Regions from separate parts of the Homo sapiens genome. Here region 1 is linked to region 2. The links are contacts of gene promoters, found by promoter capture Hi-C in blood cells and fetal thymus (Javierre and others, 2016). All regions are on one chromosome and are shown on one strand. Each heading gives the region's core, a stretch centred on a gene start or on the middle of the fragment in contact. The rest is flanking DNA. Distances are from core to core; before and after follow the strand shown.

Evidence for each region. The method cuts DNA at HindIII sites, captures the fragments that hold promoters and counts their contacts. A CHiCAGO score of 5 or more calls a contact.
Region 1: the fragment with the promoter of OR10G2 here is called in contact with a fragment that was not itself captured in region 2 in 1 of 17 cell types (total CD8 T cells); the score reaches 5.9 in total CD8 T cells.

The regions. Positions count from the first base shown.
Region 1 is chr14:21,632,222-21,636,543 of GRCh38, reverse strand. It overlaps OR10G2 (olfactory receptor family 10 subfamily G member 2), which reads left to right and starts at 1,604. Exons shown (of 1, transcript NM_001005466.2): 1 at 1,604-2,708. The coding sequence starts at 1,702. The coding sequence ends at 2,634. It also overlaps TRA. The HindIII fragment of the contact is 5,968 bases long and covers 1,142-4,322 here.
Region 2 is chr14:22,578,433-22,582,951 of GRCh38, reverse strand. The region is part of intron 1 of DAD1 (defender against cell death 1); the gene reads left to right. Among named protein-coding and RNA genes, the nearest start is that of DAD1, 8.5 kb to the left of the region's middle. RefSeq lists an enhancer at 156-657 and a silencer at 2,533-2,695. The HindIII fragment of the contact is 495 bases long and covers 1,650-2,144 here.

The DNA.
Region 1 (4,322 bases), core at 355-2,854, 950 kb after region 2:
GATTTAGTTTTCCCATCCATTTTCAAATAAATCAAAGTGTCCTCCTGAAACTCAGGCAATAAAAATCTGATATTTCTTCGTTCTTGGTGGGCAAAGGACAAGTTTAACATTTTCCAGACTTCGAAGAGCCAGATATATTCAGTATTATTATTATTACTACTAATAACTCTTGAATGTTAACATATGAATTAAGTTATTTCACAGAATACTTAAGATAAAATCTCTTTGGAGAATTTCCGATAGAGATTAAACTTATTAATATTCACATGTTATTTATAATAATCTATTGTCATTTTAATTGCTTTATGAAAGTAGTCATTTGCATTACAAAGATATTTTGTAGTTAAATGAAAGATAAATGCATCTCAAACCATATATAGAGCGAAAAGTCTTTATCAAGCAACCTATTTAACAAAAAGAGTGAAACAAACACATTCCATCCCTCTATTTTATCATCTTGTTCAGATACTTGAAAATCTGTAAATGTCTTTAGAGAGAGTTGCTGTTTGATAGACTGCAATACATAGATATTACACACAAGCACACTAAAGATCAAGTCCTGCATTAATCAATGATTTTATAACAAACAATAAAAATTCCTCTGTGACCTCATACCAAAAAAAAAACCCAATCCCAAACCAATGAACCATATAAATCAACAAATAAATCTAAATGATATCCTGGAGCAAAAACAGGCATAAATGTTTCTTGGAGTTTTTTATAATGAAATTATACCCATATTACATGGTGAATGAGGTGGTCCCTTGACCTAAAAGTCCCAGCCATGTGAGCACAGGGGTCAGACAAAAAAGATCAAGAGAAACAATGTATTCAGTCAGGGGGATTTGGCAACATCCATTCTATCTATCTCAGTCATTCAGAAAATAATTACGGTATTTATCACTTTTAGCATGCTAGACGGGATGATTATTAAGAGAGAAAAACAGAAATTAGACAATGCAACATAATGTACGTGCTCAGAAAAGTATAAGCATTGTCCTCAGGGATCCGGAAAGCCTTCTTGAAGGTGAAGACACTCAAACTGAATCCTGAAGGAAAAGTGGGCACTACCTATGTGAAGGGAGCAGAAAAGATAGTGTGTGCGTAAGTCCCAAGTTAGAGCACACTACTGTGAGAAGCTTGAAGAGTGTCATGCCTCCCAACAATAAGAAGGAATTACAAGTGGTACAATAGCGATATAAATAAGGGCCAGATGAGGAATATTTTTGCATGATATGTTAAGGAGATGAGATTTTAGCTGAGGAAAAAGGGGACAATGATAGTAGGTGAAGAAAAAGTAGATGTGGTCATTATAGGGTGTTTGTTCCACACTGCTCTGCATCAACTTTAGCCCCTCCTTGGCGAACTCACTTTTTGGTTGGAATTTTCGGTACTTCTCTATCACTCTCATGTGTCCCTCTTCCTTCATCTGGCAAATCCTGGCTTTCAGTATCTCTCAATGGACAAGAGTTTCCTCCCATCTAGGAAACTAACCAGCCTCTGGAGGACTTCTCCTTTTAAGTAAACCTAAATAACTAATGGTGACACCACCTCCTCTTTTAAAAAACAATTTGACTCTATCTTGTTTATCTCATAATTCCTAGGCATCAATCATCCGACAAAAGCATTCACTTACAACATCATTGTGCTGTGTTTCTCTTGTCAAACGTCACCATTCATCTTAGCAGACTACAAAAAGACATGGGAAAGACCAAAAACACATCGCTGGATGCCGTGGTGACAGATTTCATTCTTCTGGGTTTGTCTCACCCCCCAAATCTAAGAAGCCTCCTCTTCCTGGTCTTCTTCATCATTTACATCCTCACTCAGCTGGGGAACCTGCTCATTCTGCTCACCATGTGGGCTGACCCGAAGCTCTGTGCTCGCCCCATGTACATTCTTCTGGGAGTGCTCTCATTCCTGGACATGTGGCTCTCCTCAGTCACCGTTCCTCTGCTTATTTTGGATTTTACTCCTTCCATCAAGGCTATCCCGTTTGGTGGCTGTGTGGCTCAACTGTATTTCTTTCACTTCCTGGGCAGCACCCAGTGCTTCCTCTACACCTTGATGGCCTATGACAGGTACCTGGCAATATGTCAGCCCCTGCGCTACCCAGTGCTCATGAATGGGAGGTTATGCACAGTCCTTGTGGCTGGAGCTTGGGTCGCCGGCTCCATGCATGGGTCTATCCAGGCCACCTTGACCTTCCGCCTGCCCTACTGTGGGCCCAATCAGGTGGATTACTTTATCTGTGACATCCCCGCAGTATTGAGACTGGCCTGTGCTGACACAACTGTCAATGAGCTTGTGACCTTTGTGGACGTCGGGGTAGTGGCCGCCAGTTGCTTCATGTTAATTCTGCTCTCGTATGCCAACATAGTAAATGCCATCCTGAAGATACGCACCACTGATGGGAGGCGCCGGGCCTTCTCCACCTGTGGCTCCCACCTAATCGTGGTCACAGTCTACTATGTCCCCTGTATTTTCATCTACCTTAGGGCTGGCTCCAAAGACCCCCTGGATGGGGCAGCGGCTGTGTTTTACACTGTTGTCACTCCATTACTGAACCCCCTCATCTATACACTGAGGAACCAGGAAGTGAAGTCTGCCCTGAAGAGGATAACAGCAGGTTGAAGGACTGAATGAAAATAAGTAACTACATCTGCATCATTATCACTGCCACTCTCTTCAGCTACTGCTGCATGTGACAAATGCCCAATAAACTGCTAAGGATTTAAAGTGAATTTATTTTCATTTTCTTTGGCAGAAAATTCTGAATTATTTCGACCCAAAATCTTTTCCCCTAATTAAACTGGTTCAGGTTGTTTTACATAATCTTTTAGAAATAAATGGATACATTATTTCTATCACCTCTATCTTGTGAGATGAGAAAATGCCTTACCAAAGGTTGAATAAGATGAGAATGTGTCAATGTCTTAGAAAGTATATCATGCCAGAAAATTTGAAAAGAGTAAAAAGGGGGCTCCATAACCCCTTGTTTCATTGTCTTTGCTCCTAATCCTAGACCCCTCTAAATTCCATTTCTTTGCTTGTGCATGGCATGAATATTTCCAAGCACTTGAACTTGAAAATTCTGGATTATTTGTGTTTTCTTCCTGTCCCTCGCCCTCGTGATGTGCTAACACATCAGATTCTGTCTCCTCAAAACTATGAAACCAGCTCAAACTGATTCAGTGTAGACTGTCTCTCTTAATTCTTGACTAGTTCTTCCTCATCTAGACCACAATCAAAATTACCCTCTGAAACACAGAATCTGTAGGACTCTTCGGCGAAGGTAGAATGAATAAGGCCAGGCTCCTTAATCTGGAATTCAAAATCCAATGCAATCTTGGCTTCACATACATGTTCTCTTAAGCCATTTCCTCTGCTTCCCTCTCCCACCCTCACTGATTTATTGCCGTTCCGTGAGCATGCTCTATACTTGCCTGTACTCTTTTGCTCAAGCTCTCTTCTCTGCCTGGAATATAAGTCCTCCCTCTCCATATTGACCAAGTGACAATTTATGCTTCCTTCAGATCCATATTAAATACTTCCTCATCTGTTTTTCCCAGGCAGGACTTAACTCCTCTTCCCTGGTATTGCCATGGCTTCTTTAGTATAGACCTTGCCCCAGTCTGTCACGTATTACAGTCAAGAATTTATCTCCTACCGGGCGCAGTGGCTCACGCCTGTAATCCCAGCACTTTGAGAGGCCGAGGTGGGCAGATCACGAAGTCAGGAGTTCAAGACCAGCCTGGCCAACATAGTGAAACCCCCATCTCTACTAAAAATATAAAAAGTTAGCCAGGCATAGTGGCATGCACCTGTAATCCCAACTACTTGGGAGGCTGAGGCAGGATAATTGCTTGAACCCAGGAGGTAGAGGTTGCAGTGAGCGGAGATTGCACCACTGCACTCCAGCCTAGGTGACAGTACCAGACTTCATCTAAAAAAAAAAAAAAAAAAAAGTCTAAAAAAAAAAGGAATTTATCTCTCTTTCCACTTCAAATGGATTGTGAGCCCTCAAAGGACATAAAGCATTCATTTGTGTTTGTCTGCCTCTATTGCCTAATAACTACGAGCAGACACAGAAATCAATATTTGCTGCTGAATTTTTTTTTTTTTTTTTTTTTTGAGATGGAGTGTCGCCCTGCCGCCCAGGCTGGAGTGCCGTGGCGCGATCTCGGCTCACTGCAAGCTCCGCCTCCCGGGTTCACGCCATTCTCCTGCCTCAGCCTCCCGAGTAGCTGGGACTACAGGCACCCGCCACCACGCCCGGCTAATTTTTTGTATTTTTAGTAGAGATGGGGTTTCACCGTTTT
Region 2 (4,519 bases), core at 648-3,147:
TCACTGCAACCTCCATCTCCCGGGTTTAAGCAATTCTCCTGCCTCAGCCTCCTGAGTAGCTGGGATTACAGGCACGCTCCCCCATGCCCGGCTAATTTTTGTATTTTTAGTAGAGACGAGGTTTCGCCATGTTGGCCAGGCTGGTCACGAACTCCTGACCTCAGGTGATTCACCCACCTCGGCCTCCCAAAGTGCTGGGATTACAGGTGTGAGCCGCCATGCCCGGCCGGTTGTGTTTTTAAATGAAGAAATTTAAGTTTCCGGGGTCCCTTGATTTCTCTTATCTCCTGCATCTGTTTCATCAGCAAGCTCTGTCTTCTCCAAAATATAGCCTGTATGTCTTTATTTCTGTCCATTTTTACTACCATTCCCCTGAGCTCTTTGGGTCCTAAGTAATTCTTCTGCTTCTTTTTATTTTTTATATTTTTGAGACGGAGTCTCGCTCTGTTGCCCAGGCTGGAGTGCAGTGGCGCGATTTCGGCTCACTGCAAGCTCCGCCTCCCGGGTTCACGCCATTCTCCTGCCTCAGCCTCCCGAGTAGCTGGGACTACAGGCACCCGCCACAATGACCGGCTAATTTTTTTTTTTTTTTTGTATTTTTTAGTGGAGATGGGTCTCACCATGTTAGCCAGGATGGTCTCGATCTCCTGACCTTGTGATCCGCCCGCCTTGGCTTCCCAAAGTGCTGGGATTACAGGTGTGAGCCACTGCGCCTGGCCTATTTTTATTTTTATTTTTATTTTTTTGAGACGCAGTCTCACTGTGTCGCCAGGCTGGAGTGCAGTGGCGCGATCTCAGCTCACTGCAACCTCCGCCCTTGGAGTTCAAGCGATTCTTCTGCCTCAGCCTCCCTAGTAGCTGGGATTCCAGGAGCCTGCCACTGCACCCGGCTAATTTTTTGTATTTTATTTTTAGTAGAGATGGGGTTTCACCTTCTTGACCAGGCTGGTCTTGAATTCCTGACCTTGTGATCCACCCACCTCGGCCTCCCAAAGTGCTGGGATTACAGGCGTGAGCCACTGCGCCCGGCCTTCTGCCTCTTTTTAACCTTGCGAACCATTATACTGTTCCACCGCTCTTATAACTGAATCCGTACTGTTTTCTGAGGCTTACCATGCCCCTCAGGATTTGGCCCTTGTGTCCTTCCCCTTGATCACTATAGTCTTGTTGGTCTGTCCTTGATTTTTTTTTTTTTTTTTTTTTTTTTTGAGATGGAGTTTTGCTCTTGTTGCCCAGGCTGGAGTGCAATGGCACGATCTCGGCTTACTGCAACTTCCGCCTCCCGGGTTCAAGCGGTTCTTCTGCCTCAGCCTCCTGAGTAGCTGGGATTGCAGGCATGCACCACCAAGCCTGGCTAATTTTTTGTATTTTTAGTAGAGACGGGGTTTCTCCATGTTGGTCAGGCTGGTCTCGAACTCCCGACCTCAGGTTATCCACCCGCCTCGACCTCCCAAAGTGCTGGGATTACGGGTGTGAGCCACCATGCCTGGCGTCTGTCCTTGTGTTTATAACATGTCAAGATTGTTCTTACTGTCTAGAATGCTCTGCCCCCAGATTTTTACATGGTTGGTTCCTTATCTTTCAAATATTGGTCTTAAATAGCAAGCTCTTAAAGAGACCTTCTGTTATGATTGAATTTAAGAAAAGCTTCCCAGTCACTCTTTATTATCCTGTTTTATTTTCTTCATAGTACATATCTCTACCTAGTAGTTCCTGGTTTATTTGTTAACTTATTGATTATATGTTTCTCTCCATAGGAGTGTAAGTTCCTTGAGAGCCAGACTGTTTTGTTCTGTGCCATATTCCTAGCACCTGAAATGATGCTTGTCATGTAGTAGATGTTTAGTAAATATTTTATGGAATAAATGGACATTTAAGGGGATAGAGTAAATCAGAATTGCTAAAATGGAACAGACTGCTTGAAGAGGTAGTAAATTTCCATCTTTGGAAGTGCCCAGGGAGAGACTGAAGGATCATTGGTAGTGGAGCATTTTGAACAGGCTTTTTTTTTTGCCTTTTTTGTTTCCAATGCATCTGAGAGATGTGATATCCTTATCAGTAACACAGGCTCTGGAAAGTTGATAATTCTCCATCTGGAGGTGGCTTACCAGATTCTGTAAGTGGTGAGTATACTTTGGAAAGCTTCCCACGTGATTAGTACGCCTCCCCAAGCATGGCCACCCCCTACCACCTCTTGGGCATTGTATACATCAAATGGGGTGTTGGTGTTTATGACCTCTGAGGTCCTTTCCAACTTTGTGGGACTCTGATTCATATGTTTTCATTGAAATAATCTGGTTACCATGATCACAATAATAATAACATCAATTTATTACCTTATCCACCTTCATGGATAATTTTTCTTTTTTTCCCTCATATTTCCTCAAAACTCAACACCGTGTTCTTTACTCCAATGACCACTATTAATAGTTTTCTATTTCTTCAGATTTTTTTCTAGATTCTAACTGAAATGACAAGATAATTATGTATATCATTATATGTAAATAAAATATTTTACTTTTTTTTTGAGACGGTCTTGATTTGTCTCCCAGGCCAGAGTGCGGTGGCATGACTGTGGCTCACTGCAGCCTGCAACCTCTACCTCCTGGGCTCAAGCAATCTTCCCATCTCAGCCTCCCGAGTAGCTGGGGCCATAGGTGTGTGCTACCACACCTGGCTAATTAAAACATTTTTTTTGTAGAGACAGGGTCTCCCTATCTTTCCCAGGCTGGTCTCAAGCTCTTGGGCTCAAGCGATCCTCCCACCTTGGTTTCACAACATGCTGGGGTTACAGTTGTGAGCCACCATGCCCTGGCCAAGTGAAATTAGGAATGGGCTGGGTGTGGGGGCTCATGTCTGTAATCCCTACCCTTAGGCAAGCAGAGGCGGGAGGATTGCTGGGCAACATAGGGAGACCTTGTCTTTACCAAAAACAAACAAAAAAATTAGCTAGGCATGGTGGTGCATGACTGTTGTCTCAGCTACTCAGGGGGCTGAGGTGGGAGGATTGTTTGAGCCCAGGAGGTCGAGGCTGCAGGGAGCCATGATTGCACCACTGCACTCCAGCCTGGGTGATGGAGTGAGACCCTGTCTCAAAAAAAAAAAAAAAAAGGATTGGCTTTTTTTCACTTAATAAGTCTTAGATATGTTTGCTGTCAATGTACAGAGAATTTACCTTATTCTTTTGAATAATTGCATGGGATTTCATTGCATGTCAGTTGTATAGTTTAATCCCCTTGATGTTTAGACTGTTTTAATTTTTTTTTCAACTTTACAAACATACTTTCAGAATGTCTTTGTTCTGTAAGATAAATTCCTTTGTCAAAAGGTAAAATCATTTTAAATATTAATGGATATTGCTAGTTGCTCTCCCAAGTGGATGAATGAATCTGTACTTTCTACAGCAGGGGTTTACACTGGTTACCCTTGCTTCAGTCATTGTCTTTAATATTTTTAAGGGTCTGGATACCTGAAAGGATCAATGGTGCTTCCATGGTGTTTACATGTTTAAGCATAATGAAAACTGTTGCCATGGTGACAGGCTCTGGAGAACTAGTCTGATAGTTTTCTGGCCTTTGGATTAGATTTGTTTGTTGCTTTTTCTTAGTTAATGATGGGATGATGCTAGCCTGAAGCGAGTTTAGGTTTTCTTAAGCAATGTAATAATTTATCACAGGCATAAAGATACTTCGGAAGAGTGTATTCCTGGAACTGCCTGTTTTTTTTTTTTTGTCAATGGTGACTGTTAGAATCTTCAAGGGGATGGAGTGTGGCAGTGGAGAGTTCTCATGAGTTATCTCTCTTAGGTCTTCTGCCTTTTTTGAGACAAATAAGCAGCTGCTAGAACTTCGAGATCAAAGATAGTTTATCGAGAACTGTGAGGTTCTCAAGAATGAGCGTGCTATCTTTATAAACTCTGCTACCCATTAAATGAATATTCTATTAGAAAATAATTCACATTTTTATAACTTTTTATCATTCAGCCCGGACCCTTTGTTGTTGCCTCAAGTGCATCCCCATCTAGGTATAATTAGAAACCTTTAAATCAGCAGATAAGAGAGCTTTGTGGGTTTTTTGGTTATATATTTTTTTCTTTGAGAAAGCCTCTAGGTTTCAGTGTAACTCTGAGAAGTAATATTTTTTTTCCTTTAACAGAGTGCGAAATTTAATTGTACAACTTGATAAATTTTTAAATGTACCTGTCTAACCACTATCCAGATCAAGATGCAGGACATTACCAGCACCATAGATGCCTCCTTGCATCTTCCCAGTTATCCTCTCCCTGTGAAAGATAAAAACCACTATCTTGCCATAGATTGGTTTTACCAAGTTTTAAGCTTTTTGTACATGGAATCATATAGCATATACTTTTTTGTTTTGTTTTGTTTTGAGACGGAGTCTCTCTTGCCCAGGCTGGAGTGCAGTGGCGCAATCTCGGCTCACTGCAACCTCCACCTCCTGAGTTTAAGCAAATTCTCCTGCCTCAGCCTCCTGAGTAGCTGGGATTACAGGTGCGTGC